7 separate regions of the Homo sapiens genome follow, and regions 1, 3, 4, 5, 6 and 7 are each linked to region 2. Evidence: promoter capture Hi-C in 16 types of primary human blood cells and fetal thymus (Javierre and others, 2016). All regions are on one chromosome and are shown on one strand. The core of a region is centred on a gene start or on the middle of the fragment in contact, and the rest is flanking DNA. Distances in the headings are between cores, read along the strand shown. Region 1 holds the start of LOC124908009 (a long non-coding RNA gene). Region 2 holds the start of NDUFA10 (NADH:ubiquinone oxidoreductase subunit A10). Region 3 has its middle 25 kb from the start of MIR4440. Region 4 overlaps HDAC4 (histone deacetylase 4). Region 5 overlaps HDAC4 (histone deacetylase 4). Region 6 holds the start of HDAC4-AS2 (HDAC4 antisense RNA 2). Region 7 overlaps HDAC4 (histone deacetylase 4).

Region 1 (2,700 bases), core at 73-2,572, 890 kb before region 2:
GTCTCGCTCTGTTGCCCAGGCTGGAGTGCAGTGCCACCATCTCGGGTCACTATAACCTCTGCCTTCCAATTTCAAGCAATTCTCCTGCCTCAGCCTCCCAAGTAGCTGGGATTACAGGTGTGCGCCACCACGCCCAGCTAATTTTTGTATTTTTAGTAGAGACGGGGTTTCACCATGTTAGTCAGGCTGGTCTTGAACTCCTGACCTCACGTGATCCGCCTGCCTCGGCCTCCCAAACTGCTGGGATTACAGGTGTCAGTCACCGTGTCCGGCCGGTGTGCCCTCATTTCTGAAGTGACACTTTCACATTGCTGTTGCTATGTAATTTCATAAGGACGTTCCCATTTTCCTCTAAATTGTATTTTTCTAAATGTAACCACTCCCCCAGACAGTGCACATTTGTAAAAGTTCGCTAACACAAACTGACCACAAGAGTCGGTTCTGGGCTTCCAGCGCTGGCTCAGCTTGGTCCAGACAGAAACCCAAATCGCAAGAGCCGGTGGCCTCTCCCAAAAGGTGAGAAAGGGGAAGTGACTTCTGTTTCCACTCCATCTACCTGACTCTGGGAGTGAGGCATGGATTTTCACTGCAGTCACGGTGGCTACATCACGTGATGGGGATGTGTGTTTGGGAACTGTGGGGGTGGGACAGGCGTGCATTCCTGTCTCCTCCAAAGGCAGGCGAAGGCGGGGCACCATCCAGAGCGTGGGCAGCCTCAGAGCCTGGCTGCACCCAGGCCCATTTGTGCTCACCTGTGACGAGGGGTGCTTGTGCCGGCGGCTGCTCCAGTAAGACCATGTGCTGCAGAAGAGGGCTGTGCGCTGCCCCTCCGTCCCGCTCCAAGGGCGAGGTGCTCAGGTAGGGAGTGAGGTGGGTGCCGGGGAAAAGGGAGAGCCTCTGCTGGAGGGCGGGAAGGGTGAGTCTCTCGGCGTCCTGCTGGCCCGCCGTGCCCTGGAAAGCACAGCCAGGATGCTCGGGTGGAAGGACCCATCACCACCACCCCACACCACACGGACCCACGGGGGCTGACTTACCGCAGAGGGGCCGGTGGCAGGCAGGCCCAGCGTGATGTTGGGCAAGGATGGCGATGTGTAGAGGGGAAGTGGAGCGGCCGAGCCTTCTCGTGCCACAAGTCTGTGCGCCAAACTCGTCTGGGGACAGAACACACGATGACCATCACAGTCTGTCACGGCCAAACATCAGCAATATACACCAAGAAAAACAACGATGAAAACACCTGCACTGAATTCTGATATATGAGCGTAAACGTACATGTAACAAATGAGACAGCAATGAGAGCATGAGATTTCAACACGTGCCACAACATGAAAGCACAATTCACCACTCCAGTTTCCTCCTCCCGATACGAGTTCTTCTTCTGTCACCTTGTCCAGCATCATCTCGTTGATTTCTATTCAGTTTGATTATTTACCACAGAACAGTTAGAAGGAAATCTAGGCTAATATAGTTTACAATGCCGTTTTGCAGTTTCTAGGATAATATAGTTTACAATGCTTTTTTGTAGTTGGCAATGTCTTTCCAGACATAACATCAAAGGCAGAAAACAAAAAGGAAATAACATTTAACTGTACATTTAAAAATAACTATAAGGGTATGATTGGATTGTTTGTTACACAAAGGATAAGCACCGGAGAGGATGGACATCCCACACTTCGCATGACGTGATTATTACAAATTGCATGCCTGTATCAAAACATCTCATGTACCCCACAAATATATACATTATGTACCCACAAAAATTAAAAATAAAGAGAAAATCATAAAACAACTGCCTCTACGAAAGGTGGGCAATGATGACAATACTGGCCATGTATGAGGCAGACGAGGGTCAGCACAGAGAGCTTGCAAATCAAACAACTAACAGTGAGAAAAGCACGCGGTGAGGACCAGTGACGGCAGAGCTCAGGAAGGGGAAGGCGCTCAGGAAAACACATCATGGTCATCAAAAAAGGTATTCTGAAACCCAACAAATTGGCAAACACTTTTGAAACATGGTAATACCATCTTGGCCTAGAGGAACGGCGAACACTGTTGGGTGAATCACAAATCAGTTAGTGGCACCCTTTCTGCAGGACAATTTGGCAATCTATGTCAAAGGCCTTCAAAATCTGTCTAACCTTTGATGCTGGAGCTCCACTCTTGGGATGTAACGTTAAGAAATAAGGAGATGGCCTGATGCCCATGAAGCCTCCGCTGCAGGGCCGAGCACCCAGCAGGCATGGCAGAGCTATGCGGCTTCCCCGACACCTTGGTGTTAACAGAACGGAGGGGCATTGCACACCGGGATGCTCTGGGGGTTGGGAACGATCTAGCTGATTACTTGGACACTTGTTTATGATACATTAAGTTAGAAAAACAGGTTATAGATCATGTACCTTTTAAAGAATGGGCTTGGATAAAGCAAACACAAGCCAGGAGTAAAGATTAGAAGGCCACACAGGAAGAGTCAGCAGCAACAGTCTCCAAGGACTTGAACTACTGTGATATTTAACATCTTTTTGCTTGTAGAATGAACGTGTTTTGCTAAAAAGGACAATAGTTTATCACCACTATATCCCCTACACAGTAGCTACTCAAGGAATGTCTGCTGAATGAATGGGCAAACAAAGAGAAGGAATAAAATGTTGTTGTAATCATGCTAGTTAGTGGGGTTTGGCAGATAGAAATCCCCTTGCCAGA
Region 2 (2,700 bases), core at 198-2,697:
ACACTGTATATCATGAGATATTCCAAAGTTGAAACAAGATACCACTACGCAGCTATCAGAATGGATAGCAATCCAAAGTAACCGACAGCCCCGCATGCTGGCGAGCACGCAGAGCAACAAGGAGAGCCTTCACTTCTGGTGGGAGTCAAATGGCACAGTCACTCTGGAAGATGGCTTGGCAGCTTCTTAGAAAACTAGTCTTACTACATGAGTAATCGCTCTTCCAGGTATTACCCAAATGATATAAAAATGTATTTCCAAAAAGAAATCTGCATGTACACGATTACAGCAGCTTTATTCATAATTGCCAAAAACTTGAAGCAACCAAGATGCCCTTCAATTGCTGAATGAATTGAAGTACATCCATGCAATGAGATATTACTCAGTGATTAAAAAGAAATGAGTTACCAAGCCACGAAGACATAAGTGAATCTTACATAGATATTTCCAAGTATTCAAGGCGTCTGAAAAGGCAATATATTGTATGATTCTAATTATATGACATTCCAGAAAAGGCAACTATGGAAATGTTAATGAGATCTGTGGTTGTCAGGGGTTGGAGAAAAAGAAGGGTTTAATAGGTAAAGCAGAGGGGAATTTTTTAAGGCAGTGAAGCTACTCTGTACGAACCTATAATGGTGGAGACATGCTATTACACACGTGTCAAAACCTATAGAACCTTATAGCACAAAGAAAAAATCCATAGAACCTTATAGCACAAAGAATGCGCTCAATGTATGCACATTTTAAAAAACGCATTAGGTAGAAGGATCCCAAGATGTAAGGCAGAATGTGACAAAGCAATCCAACTGTGTTACAAATGTATGAAACGATTTCACTGAAGAAGGTGGGGGCAAAATGCTAAGAAATGAGAGTAGTCAGTCAGAGTAAAGGCAAAAGGAAGCGGACACAAGCACTGAACTCCGTGTCTGCTCAACATGGCATCACCCAAGCACCCAGCAGGGCCCGACCTTTAAACGGCTCTTGACAGGGCTGCTACGTGAATTATCTAATGACAAGCGCGTGTGCCCCCGGCCTGCCACCTGCACACGGGCCTCCCGCATCAGGGCAGCCTCGGGGCCCTGATCACCTCCGCGCTCCAGCGTTTTGCTTAAAGCTGAGATAAAATGGCCTGGAGAAGCTCGTGGCCCCCTGAGGTCTGTCCACGACCAAAGACCAAACAATTCCGGAGGCAGGAGGGGTCCCCCAAACCCACCCGGAGAGCGACCTGGGAGCCGCCGCCAGAGGCCGGGGGAGATGTGGAACTGCTCCCCACCCCGCCACCCCGCCACCCTGCCACCCCGCCACCCTGCCACCCCGCCGCCCGCTCACCACGCGCTGGGCGCCCGCCGCCACGACCCGGGCGGACGCGGACGTCGCTGCCAGCTTCAGGAGCCGCAAGGCCATGGCTACCCGGTCAGCTCAGGATCAAGGACCCAAGGGGACGCGGTCGCGACGGGGCCCTCTCTCGCGGCCGGCGCGCTGCCGTGACGTCACGGCCGGGGTGCCCGCGGCGCCTGTCGGGAACCTTCCAGGGGGCGGGGCCGCGCCGAGGCCCTCGGGGGCTTCCGCGGAGACAGCCAGTGCGCTGCCAGGGTCCTGCGGGTTGGGGCGAGGGCCGAGAGGTGGGAGTTGGAGGTGAACGTGGGGGCAGCATGCTGGCTGCCCGGCCCCTGCCTGGGTTCTGAGTTGCTGCGGTGTCGCGGGAGCTGAGGCCGCCCAGGGCGTGGAGCGACTTCTGCGTCTCGTCCCAGGGTCCTGTGCTCCCCGCAGAATCCCCCAGGCGCGGTGTGGACGTCAAAGCGACCTCCTAGAGAACATTCCTAGCTCTCAGAACGTTCTCGCTGGGGAGGGAAAGTGGAAAAAGAGGGGGCGAGGAGCGGAGGGACGGGGTGGGACCCCTGTCGCGGGGCGCCTGTCAGGGAGAGGGACCTGGCAAGGCCGGCCTGGGTCGCCTCCGGAGCTGAAGGCTAAGTGGTCTCATCCAGGGGACCTGCTGTGAACACATTGAATAGCATAGAAAACAAAAGCACACGCTCCAAGTCCATCTCTTTTTTTTTTTTTTTTTTTTTTTTTTTTTTTTTTTTTTTTTGAGGCAGAGTCCCGCTCTGTCGCCCAGGCTGGAGTGCGGTGGCGCCATCGCGCTCACTGCAAGCTCCGCCTCCCTGGTTCACGCCATTCTCCTGCCTCAGCCTCCCGAGTAGCTGGGACTACAGGCGCCCGCCGCCACACCCGGCTAATTTTTTGTATTTTTAGTAGAGACGGGGTTTCACCATGTTAGCCAGGATGGTCTCGATCTCCTGACCTCGTGATCCACCCGCCTCGGCCTCCCAAAGTGCTAGGATTACAGGCGTGAGCCACCGCGCCGGCAAGTCCATCTCTTAAAATGTGCTCCCGTCAGGACCTGGGCTCTGGGCTCCACGAAGGAGCCTTGCATGTGAGGTTTCCTTCCAAGTATGCCTGCTGTTGGGAAGGGTTTTTATAATCTTTTGTGTTCCCCAGGCTTTTTGTTCTTAACCCCTTAAATATTCTTTAACTTTGTTTTCAACTTTTCAGAAATGATCATGCGATTGTAAAACAGTGGGAATGCAGCTGTGTAAACTACGGCCGGTTCTATGGATGTTTCTATAATTGAAGAATTGCTTTTTGTCAAAAATACGGATTCCCGGTCCCCAACGCAGGAGGGTCTGGTTTTTAGAT
Region 3 (2,700 bases), core at 105-2,604, 980 kb before region 2:
CAATACAGAGGAAGTCTAGATTTAGAATGAATTTCCTGGTAACTGGTTTGTGAATAGAATATGGTTTGCGTCTGTGCCCCTGCCAAATCTCACATTGAATTGTCATCTCCAGTGTTGGAGCTGGGACCTGGTGGGAGGTGATCAGATCACGGGGGCCGAGTTCCGTGAATGGCTTAGCTCCATCCCCGCTCGGTACTGTGGAGTGAATGAATGAGCTCTCATGGATCTGGCTGTTTCAAAGTGTGTGGCCCCTTTCCCATCTCTTGCTCCTGCTCCAGCCATGGAAGACGTACCTGCTTCCCCTTCTGCCATAACTGGACGTTTCCTGAGGCCTCCCCGGAGGCCGAACAGATGCCAGCCTCATGCTTCCTGTACAGCCTGGGGAACTGTAAACCAATTAAACATCTTCTCTTTATCAGTTGCCCAGTCTCAGGTATTTCTTTATAGCAGTGTGAGAACGGACTCATACGGAATATCTGCAGTTTCTTCTTGCCTTTCTAAAGAGGCATGAGGGCCTCTGGGTTTGGCTGGCCAGCTCTCCATTGCACGGCACACCTGGTGGCTCCTGCCAAGTCGCTGCCAGCTGGGACCAAGTTAGAGAGGCGCCGCTTAGAGAGCTGCCCACTGTGACGCTTCATCCGTTCCCTCTTCAGCAGCCCTTCCCACCTGGAGCTTGTAGGAGAATCCACGATGTTCATCCGTGTGATTATTTTTTATTTCTGCTGTATGCTCCTGTATGCGCCTGGCCTAACATCTCTTCGAAATGTCTTTTTGTATTTCTAGTGATTCCGCTTGAACAGCATCTCATCAGCTTCGCAGCTGTGCACGCAGCCATTACTTGTAGAATTCTCCTGGTACCTGTGTAAATTTTATCCTTAGTCCTCCAGTAATTCACTAGCCAGACAGCACAGTGCCAGCTCCTGGTCTGGCATCGTTTGGTGACTTCCTTCTGGTCATGATACTCACCTTGGACCTGTGTGTACCACCTTCTTCTCTGGGGAAGGCTCCCACGATTGCTTCTAGGAAAGAAGAGAACCTCCGATTGGCTAGAATGTGGTTGTAAGGGCCGGCCACCCTTGCTGGTATCATTAGTTGGCTGTGCCTACCCAGAGAGTCCAGGCAGCACCATCCCTGACCCTCCGCCTTCCCACTGGCACAGATGTCTTTCAGGTAGAGTGTGGACCTCATAGGAAGGCCCTGGGGGTTGTGAGGTACCTGGGTACAGTGGTTCCTCATGTGTTGGTAAGGTTTGCAGGTGTTCTTGGTTCTGTGGCAGAGACTCTGGTGTCTCTCAGTACCCACCCTCCCTTTCTTCTGTAACAGCAGAGCTGCTGTCTCCACTTGGACAGGTGGGCACCTGTGGAAGACTGCACATCCTGGCCTTGCTTGCAGCTGCTGTGGCCACAAGCCCCAGGGGGTCTTAAGCAGAAATGCTATGTGCAGCATCTGGGGAGAACCCTTAAGGAGCCATTCTGGGTTCTGGTGCCAGGTGAGAAGGCCCGAGAAGCAGCTAGGCAGGGGGTGGGCTGTGGTCCCCCCAGCAGGAGTAGGAAGAGAGAGGCGGTGGCAGAGGCTGCCGAGGGCCCCTGGGAGGCTGAGAGCCGCGGCTCCAGCCTGGCCTCCTGCGTCTTTAGGGAGGTGGATTTGTCAAGGTGGTGAGGAGCCCACATTTCTGCATAACACTTTTGGAGCTTGATCTGTGTCCACATACTTGGGCATATGGCGGTCTCCACTTGAACCCTGGCCCCTGGCCCTGCGAATATCTGTGGTTGGCTCGGTAGATGTGTGTCACCCACGCAGACATTAGCTTTGCCATCATCTGTCATTTTGTCATATATCTAACTGCCCATTACTGGGAGTTGTTTACTTTCCAAAGGGGCTTTACTAATAACTTCAACACTGTAACACATTAGTCTGAGGCCCCAAGTACATATTAGGGACTCAGTGTGACTTCAAAGAGCAGCTGCATCCAGATTGAAACTAAGAGTGTGTCAGGGACATACAACTCCCTACAACTGCACCCCAGAAGTTTAAGTGGAACCACTTCCTGGGTCCTCCCAAGCTGCATTATGACCTGCGCTTCCTGAGAATCTGATGTAAAAGACAGCATGTGTTGAAATTATAGCACGATTTACTTGCAAACCCGAATTTCCATTTTTTTGTACACTCAGATATCAGACAAAAACTTTTAAGAAACTGAGAACACCGCAGCATTTTAGTTTTTGTACATAAATCCCAAGACTTGCACGAATTACAATGCCACACTTCTTTTTTCCCACATTTTCATATGAATTTATTTTCCATCACTATCAGAGAAATGTTCTTGCATTTGAAATCAAATCAACAAGTTTAATTGGCCAGAGAGTTCCTTTTAAATAGAAATTTTGAGTGCATTTAAAAATAAACCTTCAAGTCTCATATATTATTCAAGTCTCATATATATAGTATAAGTATAGTATATATTTATATTAAAGTCTCATATATATATAGTACCATATAATATTACCATCCTTGGCTGGGTGCAGTGGCTCATGCCTGTAATCCCAGCACTTTGGGGGGCCAAGATGGGCAGATCACCTGAGATCAGGAGTTTGAGACCAGCCTGGCCAACATGGTGAAACACCATCTCTACTAAAAATACAAAAAAGCCGAGCATGGTGGCGTGCGCCTGTAGTCCCAGCTACTCGGGAGGCTGAGGCA
Region 4 (2,700 bases), core at 197-2,696, 950 kb before region 2:
TCCTTTCTGACCGACATTCCGAGGCTTCCTCCATGGCTCTGACCAACCTAATGGGCAGCAGGACTGAGGGGGGCCGCAGGACTGAGGGGGCCGCAGGACTGAGGGGGGCAGCAGGACTGAGGGGAGCAGCAGGACTGAGGGGGGCAGCAGGACTGAGTGGGGAAGCAGGACTGAGGGGGCCACAGGACTGAGGGGGGCCGCAGGACTGAGGGGGCCGCCCTCTGCTTTCAACTGTCCACATCATCCCAAGGAGACTCGCTTCTAATTATTTTAATAAAGTTCTTGTCATAAAACCTTTTTCTTTGGACAGAAAAACACATTTCCAGCCATGCTTTTGGTGTGGATTTTAAAGCCAAGACCTTTTTCAATGAGAACCACAGGCGTTTTGTGTGGACGCTGTGTCCTTGGCGAGGCACTCTGACTGCTGCTTTGCAGCGAGCGCACGTGGAGGCTTTACTTCCCCACTTTGAAGTGCTGCTGAGCTATTTTACTTCTAATCCCCCTCCAAAAAGAAGTCCTGTGAAAATCGCCGTTAAATGAAGTTCATACCAAGAGAGTCTCTGCTGTCTAGGCTTGGTGTGTGGTGTTGCCTCAAAGCCAGTCAAAACAAAATGGGAAAGATGAGCCCAGGCTCGTGGGCACTGGCACGTCGGCCACACGTGAGGCTGCGTGGGGCACAGTCGGATGCACGTGCCCACACACTCATTTTCATTTTACTGGGCTCAACACCCTCTAGGTTGTGATCCCAAACACCTGCTAGACATAAGAAGGTCAGAACGTGAGGTGCATGAGTGCACCTTCAGCACCCGTTTGTGGCGCGACTAAGAAACGTCCCTTCTCCTCCATGGGACATGACTTCTTTGCCTGTAAAAAGGAAGCTGAGCATGGCACTCCCTGTGTCTTCAGGACTGTGCTTACCCTCCACGACTTTCCTACAAGAGGAAGCTGAAGGAATGTCCCTGTTTAATAGATGCTGCAAAAAATGGGAAACTGGACTCACATTTTATTCCCAGAATTAAACTTTTAATAAAGAACTCAGTCTCGGCCGGGCACGGTGGCTCACACATGTAATCCCAGCACTTTGGGAGGCCGAGGCAGGCGGATCATGAGGTCAGGAGATCGAGACCATCCTGGCTAACACGGTGAAACCCGGTCTCTACTAAAAAATACAAAAAGTTAGCTGGGCGTGGTGGCGGGTGCCTGTAGTCCCAGCTACTCAGGAAGCTGAGGCAGGAGAATGGCATGAACCTGGGAGGAGGAGCTTGCAGTGAGCCGAGATCGCGCCACTGCACTCCAGCCTGGGCGACAGAATGAGACTCCGTCTCAAAAAAAAAAAAAAAAAAAAAAAAAAAAAGAACTCAGTCTCTAAAAAAATAAGATTGAGATGTTTGCCGTGGGCCTCTCAAGCCATCACTTTAAGGAGAGTATTTCCATGAGGTCACTTTTGGCCTTTCTTGGGGCAACCTGAGGGGAGAGAGGGGTGGGCTCGCAGTTTCCCAAGGCAGTAGGCCCACTGATCGTCCACTGATCGTCAGCTCAAGAGGCAGGAGAAATGGGTGGAAAGAGGGGATCTTTAGAGAAGGTGGACAAATGCCTGTAAGGTGCACCCCTGGGGCCGGCAAGCCCAGGGAAGCCATGACTGTGGTGCCCAGAGGGTGCCTGTGCCCGTGAGGCACGTACAGAGGGAAACGTGGTGCTAAGGGGAGAGAGCGGCTTCTCCTCGCGGTGGCCTCTGCATTTAGGGAGGTCCCGTGTGAAGCCGTGGGGTGCCACGCATCCCCTTCCCGTGGCCTCAATGTGGCTTCTCTGGCACCTTCGTTACCGACACAGCACTGCACCCTTCACTCGGTCATCAGCCAACCTGCACCTGCAGCCTGAAGACGACATCTCCCCTCAGCTTCCCAGGGAATAGAGCTGGGCTGGGACAGCAGACAGGTGCCAGCCACTCCCCTTGGTTTCCCGGGAAACAAAGCTGGGCCGGGATAGCAGGTGGGTGCTGGCCACTTTCCTCGGCTTCCCAGGGAGACAGAGCTGGGTTGGGACAGCAGGCGGGTGCCAGCCACTCCCCTCAGCTTCCTGGGAAACAGAGCTGGGCTGGGATAGCAGTAGCAGGCGCGTGCCAGCGAACTCTCCTTGGCTTCCTGGGAGACAAAGCTGGGCCAGGATAGCAGTAGCAGGCGGGTGCCAGCCACTCCCCTCAGCTTCCGGGGAAACAAAGCTGGGCCGGGATAGCAGTAGCAGGCGGGTGCCGGGCCACTCTCCTGGGCTTCCCAGGGGAACAGAGCTGGGTTGGGTTGGAACAGCAGGCGGGTGTTGGCCACGCCCCTCGGCTTCCCAGGGGGAACAGAGCTGGACCGGGACAGCAGGCAGGGTGCCGGCCACTCTGCTTCCTCGAAAGGCCATCGCTCGTGCAGCCTCCCAGCTGTGCTCTGCGCAAGGGGCTGTGTCACGGGGCACGTCTAGCTCTAAACCACCACATACCATCAAATTATGGCCTGTACATACCATCCTCAAAAGCCACAACTGCATCTAAATGCAATAATTCACTTAACAGCTGGGTTTCAACATCTGGAAAGAAATGACCTTCCAGTTCATTCCCCTAGTAGGACCCTAAACAAAACTCACCACACCTTCCGTCAACACAAGCCTCAGAGCAAACCGAGCTTATGGGGCCAAGAGGCTGCAGTCCTGTGGCCACCC
Region 5 (2,700 bases), core at 81-2,580, 870 kb before region 2:
ATCTTGGTGTTCCCATCCTTGTGGTCCTTCTCTAAGTGGAGGTGAGTGGCTCCTGCTGGTTTCTACCTGAACTGTAGGCATGGAGGCAAGGAGGTGGGGGGATGCTGGGTCTGGCAGTTACCAGTCATTGGATGGAGAAAAAAATCAAAAACACCCTAACAGCGTAGAGAAACAAGAGCAGAAAACACCTCGATCTGGTCCTACTCGAAGGACTTTGCAAATATTAATTAATTCACATCTCATGATAGCTCCAGGAGAGAAGCAATTTAAAGGTACATTTCACAGATGACGAAACTGAGGCACAGAGAGGTTCAAGAGCTTCCCCAGGTCCCAAGGTGGCGGGTGAAGGAGCTGGGTAGAAACTCAGGCACCTGGTCCTGCCCACAGGTGCAGGCGATGTGAATGCCCAGAATATGCCCAAGCTCCGAATAGGAGTCACTGCATTGCTTTCACCAGGGAGGTCAGACGTTTGAGCTGGTACAGGCGTTACCTGTCAGCAGAGCCAGCAAAGGACATGCAAAAAATGCATGGGGTGACGACAAAATTCACAAGACAGTGACAAAGCTTTTCACATGTTCACAGGTCATACAATTGCCCTTTAGAGATGCAGAAATGGGCAAACTGTGTGCCGGGTCAGGATAAGTTAATGTAAAATCAAAATCATATAATTATTTAAGTCTACATCACAATTATTAAAGACTATTTCAGTTCATTCAAGGAACTTCATAACTAAAATTTAATGACGTGTTTCATATTACCAATTACTGCAGAAAAGCACAGATATAACTTACTTAGAATGAGCGATGTCATGTGTTTGAAAGTAGATGTCAAGGGTGATACAGGGTGTGTAACTACACACTATTCTCTTAAGTGGTTTAAACGTTTTCTCGGAAATCTTTATGTTATTATTATTAATGTGGTAGTGATGACTTTTTAAAAAACTGATAATGCAATCAAATCTTAATTAAGTTCTTCTGGAGCACTATGTATTCTAAATAACATTTCCCGGAGTGTGAAAACAGAATTCTCTCTTCCGTTCTCAAGAAAGCAGGGAGTTGGAGGGTGGTGCTATCACAAGGTTAGAAGCACAGTAGAAGGTGTTGGAGACTTTGCTTCCAATCATCCCCAGAGAAACACAAGGCAGCATGGGAAGCCAACAGCCACGGAATCTACGAGAGATGGCGCGGGCCCTGCCTATGGGAGAAAGGCCTCTGATGGTGAACAGCAGGGCAGGGCCGTGACAGTGTGCCGTCTCCCATGCTGATAGCCTTCCTTGCTATGAAGTACTCAAGCTGGTTCTGTTTCTTAGAACAGGAGGCTGATCCCCAGGTAGTGCTGACATTTGGGATGGGGGAGGAGCCAGTGCAAATAGCTCCTAGGGCTCCCCCATCCCTGCTGTTCTGTTGCGAGTTGGGGTGTGGAGCTGCTGAGGAACTGCTCTGGGGCCTGATGGGATGGGTGGTGTGTGCTGTCCTTTCCTGGGGCCCTTGGTGGAAAGGCTCCAAATGGGGAGTTTCTGGGAAGGCACGTCCCCACATGAGGCCGACTTGCTGGGCTTGGTGCTCTCGCTGGAAGCTCCCTCCTGGGTCCATGGCTCTGGAGTCTGAGTGCCACAGCCATCACTCCCAGGACAAGAGGAGACTCTGGGGATGGGTGCATGCCACAGCCGTGAGGATGTGGGTGTGGGCAGACCCACTGTGCTGATGAGGAAATGGAGGCCAGGGGAACGGAAGGCATTTGTTTCAGGGCACACAGAGCTATTACATGAATGAGCACACATCCAACCCACAGCACTTGATGACAACACCTCCGGGCTCCCACCCTCCACCCTCGGCATCGCTCCAGTTTCTAGGGCAGGGTTCTTCCGGGTAGGCATGTTCCTTGCCTCCCCATTCCCCGGGTCTCTCTCCCAGCATAGGGCCCACCACTCACCGCGGACTTTGGTTTTGTTGATGGAATTTGATTAATAATAGCATCAGTCCCCAGAAAGGGAACCTGGAGGGCGATTTGTAAGAATCAGCCCACAGATTCTCTCCTGATACTACTGGGCACATCTTTCTGGAAAAAATACTGATCTCTAAATCCGTTCTTTCTGTCAAGCTTTAGGGCGCTCTCCAGGTGAAATCCAGGACCATTCTCAGTAGAAGCATCAGTAAGAACCACAGGCTCACACCCATGAAACAAAGCAGCAGAAGCTCTAGGTTCACTTTTCCCAATAAAGGTTTATGGCCCAAATGGAAATGCGCCCATGTTTGCAGGGTTCTTGACTTGGAGAGGACATGGCCGTGCTGATATGGCCCACTCCAGCAGGGTCTCCACCAGCCCGATACGGCCCACTCCTCTGAGGTCACAGCTGGCCTGTTATGACCCACTCCTCCAGGGACTTGGCCGGCCCCATACGACCCACTCCACCTGGGACATGGCCAGCCCGATACGACCCACTCCACCTGGGACGTGGCCAGCCTGATATGACCCACTCCACCTGGGACATGGCTGACCCAATACGGCCCACTGCTCCAGGGACACCACCGCCTCAATAAACCCTAATAGGTGTACTGGGAACATGGCCGGCCTGATATGGTCCACTCCACCTGGGACATGGGCCAGACTGATATGACCCAGTCCACCTGGGACATGGCCAGCCCAATACAGCCCACTCCACCTGGGACACCACCGCCTCAACACACCCTAATAGAGCCC
Region 6 (2,700 bases), core at 26-2,525, 830 kb before region 2:
TCTGAATATATCTGATCACATTCCACAGCGCAGCACGGGCTGCCTCGTTGTTATTGTTGTTTTTTAAATGAAATCCTCCTCTCTGACTGTTTCTGTTTCTTTCCCCAAATCAGTGAAGTGCAACCCCCAACTTTTAAAATGCATGTATTTAGTTTTTAATTGGGTGTCGACTTTGACACAGTAAAAGGTTTTCATTTGCTATTATGTGAGAAGAATCTACGCACATAAACTGCGTGTTCAATGTGCGGAAGCAGGGAGTAGGGGTCCGCCCACCCCCCACCCCGCACATGGGTGAGGACTGTTCCATGTGCAGGAGCAGAAAGCAGGGGTCCACCCACCCCCCACCCCACACATAGGTGAGGACTGTTCCATGTGCAGGAGCAGAAAGCAGGGGTCCACCCACTCCCCCACCCCATATGTGGGTGAGGACTGGACCCTATTCATTTCCTTTCTTCCCTTTTCTGATCATTTTTATGACAAAATATAGCAAAATGGAAAAACTGCGTAAGCAATGCTGGTTTTATGAAACATCAGCGTTCACCTACATTTGCTTCAGACTTTCTTTTAAGGAATAAAATATATGAAAGGCAGGGAGGAGAGCTAAGTCAGCAAACTCGCAAACTCGGAGAAAAGAGAACGGGGCCTGGCTTCTTGAAGAAGACTCAGCTGGCGGGCTCCCTGCTGTGGGCACTGGGGGCTACGGGTCCGGCTCTCACAAGCACGGCGGTGCTAAATGCTTTCCTGAACACACAGTCTCGTGAATGACTGTCAGGTTGCGGTTCCCTCTTCCGCGTTCATGGCTGTGATTGGCACGCGGTTCTCCTGGGACCAGTGCCCTGCAGTGACTTCCTAGAGTGCCTCAGGTGAGCGGGCCCGTGCTTTCCAGGGATAAACACAACTTTGTTCTTCTAAGTTACACAGTCAGCACCCATGGGTGAACCCATCGGGGAAGGCATACACTTGTATAATGTAGAAGAACAAAGTTGCATTTATCTCCAGGAAGGGATAAAGTTAGAAAAACAAAATAGCATCAACAACGACCATGTTATTTAGAATGCTGGTGTCTATATTTGTAGGTGAAACTGGTCTCTCTCATATTCTTTCTGTTTGGTCAAACAGAGACATTTTAGCTTGAACAAATAAGCACAGGGAATAAGTAACTGCACAGCGTTGCATCTTGGAAGCTGGGTTATTGCCTACGTCTCGCCTCATTTATCCCTGTGTGGGGGGCCTGGGTGGGACCCCTGCTTATAAGATGTGCTGCTGTCACCCAAGGTCCCATGTAGAAACAGGGTCCCACCACAGGCGCTGGGCAGAGGCCTGACCCGCTGCTGGCTTTAGCGCATCCCCCTCCATTTCTAATTTCTCACAGATGGAGGGAGGGGGCAGCATTGTAAACGTCTGGTGTTAATCTCTTTAAAAACCGAACATAAAACAACTTTTAAGGGATTTTTTTTATTAACTTCAAAAACATGACATGCCCGCATTTCCACTCCTCATTCAGTTCCCAAAGAACATTCATGGCTCCTGCTGTGTGCCAGGTGCTGTGGGAACGGGCCCAGGGCAGCCGCTGGGGCGCCGAGGAGCACAGGAGCTGATGGCAGGCCCAGGGGAAGGGCCCACAGTGGGCTGCGTCTCACCGAGGGCAGGGGCTGCCTGAGCAAGGACCCAGAGGTCTGGGTGCAGGTGGAGGGTCATGGGGACGGGGGAGCCCAGAGACCAGCCTGCCATCTGCAATCCTAGAGTGTCACTCAGGCTTGGGGCCGGGAGAGCAGCCAAGAGCGCGAGGGGAAGCAGCAGCAACTCTGGTGCTGGGGAGGACCCAGCTTCTCAGGACAAAGTGGGGAAGGCGGGGCAGGCTCTGCACACCCAAGGTTGGCTGGCCGAGTGGAATTTTCTTTCTTCAAACTTTTCTCAGATTCCCCTGAATCTGGAATCACAGGACATCTTAAAAGGAAACCCAAGTTCATGTTTGCTCCAAAGCATCTAATAGAGATGACACTAACATGATCTTGATGCAAATGCCACCGAAGCTATTTCATCAGGGTCAGAGGCAAAATTCAGTGTACTGAAATTCCCATCACAACGCAGGCACCTGGCCAGATCTGAGCCCGGGGTGGTCAATGCTGATGTGGGCCAAGGGCCCCCACCACCTGGGAGTTTTCAGAAATGGAAAATGATCACAAGGTTCCTCACAGGGATGCCGGCCAGCATTCATCATTGAGCGTGGAGGAGATGCGCTCACTTGGATGCCAAGGAGGACAGGCAGCGCCCTCTGAAGGTAAGAATTGCTCCCTGGATGTAGCCTCATCTGGATAACCTACACAACTCATCTTTCCATCCAGTCTACTCAAGAGCTATTAATGCTTTAATTCCTAAGGCATTCATTCTTTAATCTGTTCCTTAAGCTGTTTTCTTGGAGATTTGTACAAGTTCTGCAAATTAATTCAAATTTCATCTTAAAAGGAATTTGTCAACTGGACTGAGAGACAATCAAAACAGTCAGACACGGAACATGCTGAGCGCCACGCTGCTGCCGGGGAATTCTCTTCTGAAGCTTGGGTGACGCTCCTGCCCGCCTCACAGGCACACAGCTGAACCTCCTGTGCGTGCATCACCTGAACGGTCACAGCTCGACCCAAGTCTGCTCTTAAATTCCACCACCTGTGAAACAGCCAGCGAGCAGCCTGGCCCAGCACT
Region 7 (2,700 bases), core at 194-2,693, 930 kb before region 2:
CGTGACGCTCAAAGGAAATGCACTCTGGAGCATTCTGGATTTCAGATTTTTGGATTAGGGATGCTGAACTGGTAAGTACAATGCAAATATTCCAAAATCTGAAAAACACCAAACTCTGAAATACTTCTGGCCCCAAGCATTTCGGATAAGGGATAGTCGACCTGTCAAATAATTAGCAGCAAAATGAAATGTAAGGGGAATCACGACCAGTCTCTTCCAATAGTGACTTTCTCCTGTGCCGAGTTTAACTGGAAGCTCCACATGTTGACCAGCGTAGCTAAGCGGGACTGGCCGTGTGGGCGGGTGAGGAGAGCTGCCCTGCTCTGCCCTAGTGACGGTACACGGCTCTGCCTGGACACCAGCAAGTCAGCCCGCTGGCCTTTTCCACTTCAGACAGAAAACGTGTTTCACACAAACACGTCAACAATCCCCGATTGTGTGTTGGCTCATTTATTTATTTAGGCACACCAGAAATTTCTTACAGCCCTGGCTCAATTCAGGAGGAAAGTCGACAGACAGAGACCTGGACAGCCAGTTCTGCACAGAGCAGTCTCCTATGGGAGTCTGGCCAGGGGAGGGAGGTGTTAAGATGAAATACACAGCCCTTGGGCTGGCCCCAGGGAACCTGAGCATCTGTCCCCAAGTGTGTCCCTTGCCTGCAAGCTGCTGTGGGGTAACACACCGGGGACTTGGGGGTGCCCAGCCCGGTGGAGGTCTTAGAAGCCGTGTCATAGGTTGCTCAGCTTCCACACGGTGCTGACCAGGGCGATTGCAGGTCCATTGCAGGACGCCTCCTTCTCAAACTGAGCCCCTCTGAGCGCCGAGTGCTTTGGGGCTCCTAAGCAGGAGCCAGGCGTGTCCACCCTGCCTCTCCCTTCCCCAGACCAGGCCCTCGAGGGCTCCTGTCCACCACCAGGCAGACTTGCCACTTGATAGACACCGCTCATTATGTGGGGAGGGAGGATTTCTTTCCAGGCGGTCTTGAAGCTTCATCATCAAAGCAAGGTGAGTTAAAATGCATTTTCAAGGGGCTGAAGACATTTCCTGAAGTGTATTCGGTGATGGTTTTCTTTTCAAAAAATTAGCCAGATGTGGGCCGGGCGCAGTGGCTCATGCCTGTAATCCCAGCACTTTGGGAGGCTGAGGTGGGCGGATCACAAGGTCAGGAGATCGAGACCATCCTGGCTAACACGGTGAAACCCCGTCTCTACTAAAAATACAAAAAAAAAAAAAAAAATTAGCCAGGTGCCGTGGTGGGCGCCTGTAGTCCCAGCTACACGGGAGGCTAGGGCAGGAGAATGGCGTGAACCCGGGAGGCGGAGCTTGCAGTGAGCCGAGATCGCGCCACTGCACTCCAGCCTGGGCGACAGAGCCAGACTCCGTCTCAAAAACAAACAAACAAAAATTAGCCAGATGTGGTGGCCTGGGCCTGTAGTCCCCACAACTCAGGACGCTGAGGCGGGAAGATCACTTGAGCCCAGGAGGTCGAGGCTGCAGTTAGCCATGAATGCACCGCTGCACTCCAGTCTGGGTAACAGACTGAAGCTCTGTCTCCAAAGAGGAAAAAAAAAAAAAAAAAAATCCAAGGTGACATCGCAGGAGTGAGAGCTGGGCAGGGCAAGATTCTGCCACCTGCTCTGTGTCAGCCAGCAGAGGCGGGGTCCCAGACAGGCCAGGCCCCGAGGCTGCCCCTGTGGGGACAGCACCCAGAGATGGTTTCTCTCCAACATACAATGAACTAGGCTTTGGGATTAGGCCAACACTGCAGGGAGCGGAGGGTGTACTACACCCGTGTTCTGAAGGGTCTTCTGGGGATTCTGCACACCTGGGGTGCCAAGGAGCTGCTCGGTCTACCAGGTGCCTGTGTCTGTGCCCCCTCCCATGGGACCCTGGGGTTCAGAAGCTTCTGGAGTCTTGCACAGAGTGAAGGACAAAGCCCCAGCCAAACTGCAGGACCCCAGTCCCCAGAGAACTCAAGAGACCCTCCTTCGCCTGCTTCAGGACCACGGCTCCAGCTCCCAGGGACCAGCCTGGAGCTCCAGGCCTCTTGCAGGGAGCCTGGCTCAGGCGTGCAGCGCCACCACTGAGCAATAGCCTGGCTCAGGGCAGGCGGCCGCAACTGCTAATGCAGGAAGGAGCAAATGGCTCACTCTGTGTTTCGTTTCTTTTTTTTTTTGTTTTCTTTTCCTTTCTTTCTCTCTCTCTCGCTTCTCTCCTCTCCTTTTCTCTCTCTTTCGCAATAAAGACAGGAAAAAGGCGGGGGGAAACATGGAGAAAGCTTCCCACGGATAATCCCATGGAGTCTAAAAGGGACATGCCGAGGGCTGGCAGGGCTGGGAGGCCTTTGGGAAGCTCAGAGGAGCCGCGGGGAGCCGGGCGTACGAGAGCAGGCCAGGACTCCGCTGGGCGAGGCCGAGCAGGGACACCAGCTCCTCACCCAGTTGAAACTTGCGGTCACTGGAGAGGAGCAACGCAGGAGCTGATCTGGTTTGAAAAAGAGGTCAAAGCACTTTACAGCTCCCATTTCCCAGCGCCGAGGAGTGGTGAGTTTTCCGTGTTCCAAGCCCCACTGTTCTGCCTCCGGGAGAGTTTGCAGCTGCTTTCGGGGAAGGTGGCTGGCTCTGCTCACCTGCTCTGCCCTCCCTGACAAGAGCACCTGCTGTGTGCCCACACTTCGGCTCCCGAGGTCTACTTTGCTCC

The links. Contacts are between HindIII fragments. The CHiCAGO score rates a contact against its expected background, and 5 or more counts as called.
Region 1: a contact is called between a fragment that was not itself captured here and the fragment with the promoter of NDUFA10 in region 2, in 1 of 17 cell types (M0 macrophages). The highest score is 5.1, in M0 macrophages.
Region 3: a fragment that was not itself captured here is called in contact with the fragment with the promoter of NDUFA10 in region 2 in 7 of 17 cell types (M0 macrophages, fetal thymus, naive B cells and 4 more); the score reaches 8.0 in M0 macrophages.
Region 4: a fragment that was not itself captured here is called in contact with the fragment with the promoter of NDUFA10 in region 2 in 8 of 17 cell types (M0 macrophages, monocytes, fetal thymus and 5 more); the score reaches 11.2 in M0 macrophages.
Region 5: a contact is called between a fragment that was not itself captured here and the fragment with the promoter of NDUFA10 in region 2, in 3 of 17 cell types (M0 macrophages, monocytes and naive CD4 T cells). The highest score is 6.9, in M0 macrophages.
Region 6: a fragment that was not itself captured here is called in contact with the fragment with the promoter of NDUFA10 in region 2 in 2 of 17 cell types (neutrophils and monocytes); the score reaches 5.7 in neutrophils.
Region 7: a contact is called between a fragment that was not itself captured here and the fragment with the promoter of NDUFA10 in region 2, in 2 of 17 cell types (M0 macrophages and neutrophils). The highest score is 5.7, in M0 macrophages.

The regions. Positions count from the first base shown.
Region 1 is chr2:239,133,493-239,136,192 of GRCh38, forward strand. HDAC4 (histone deacetylase 4) reads right to left here. Exons shown (of 27, transcript NM_001378414.1): 10 at 1,035-1,151; 11 at 753-951. LOC124908009 (a long non-coding RNA gene) reads right to left here and starts at 746. Exons shown (of 2, transcript XR_007088257.1): 1 at 1-746. The HindIII fragment of the contact is 3,488 bases long and covers 1-2,700 here.
Region 2 is chr2:240,023,895-240,026,594 of GRCh38, forward strand. NDUFA10 (NADH:ubiquinone oxidoreductase subunit A10) reads right to left here and starts at 1,448. Exons shown (of 10, transcript NM_004544.4): 1 at 1,333-1,448. The coding sequence starts at 1,407. RefSeq lists a silencer at 1,375-1,634 and an enhancer at 1,443-2,272. The HindIII fragment of the contact is 3,872 bases long and covers 1-2,700 here.
Region 3 is chr2:239,042,959-239,045,658 of GRCh38, forward strand. No RefSeq gene overlaps it. Among named protein-coding and RNA genes, the nearest start is that of MIR4440, 25 kb to the right of the region's middle. The HindIII fragment of the contact is 4,694 bases long and covers 1-2,700 here.
Region 4 is chr2:239,073,899-239,076,598 of GRCh38, forward strand. All of the region lies in intron 22 of HDAC4 (histone deacetylase 4), which reads right to left. Among named protein-coding and RNA genes, the nearest start is that of MIR4440, 6.3 kb to the left of the region's middle. The HindIII fragment of the contact is 6,470 bases long and covers 1-2,700 here.
Region 5 is chr2:239,152,686-239,155,385 of GRCh38, forward strand. All of the region lies in intron 7 of HDAC4 (histone deacetylase 4), which reads right to left. Among named protein-coding and RNA genes, the nearest start is that of HDAC4-AS2, 40 kb to the right of the region's middle. The HindIII fragment of the contact is 1,536 bases long and covers 563-2,098 here.
Region 6 is chr2:239,191,896-239,194,595 of GRCh38, forward strand. The region is part of intron 3 of HDAC4 (histone deacetylase 4); the gene reads right to left. It overlaps HDAC4-AS2 (HDAC4 antisense RNA 2), which reads left to right and starts at 1,750. Exons shown (of 2, transcript NR_198956.1): 1 at 1,750-2,281; 2 at 2,467-2,700. The HindIII fragment of the contact is 2,559 bases long and covers 1-2,555 here.
Region 7 is chr2:239,090,685-239,093,384 of GRCh38, forward strand. All of the region lies in intron 17 of HDAC4 (histone deacetylase 4), which reads right to left. Among named protein-coding and RNA genes, the nearest start is that of MIR4441, 6.1 kb to the left of the region's middle. The HindIII fragment of the contact is 916 bases long and covers 986-1,901 here.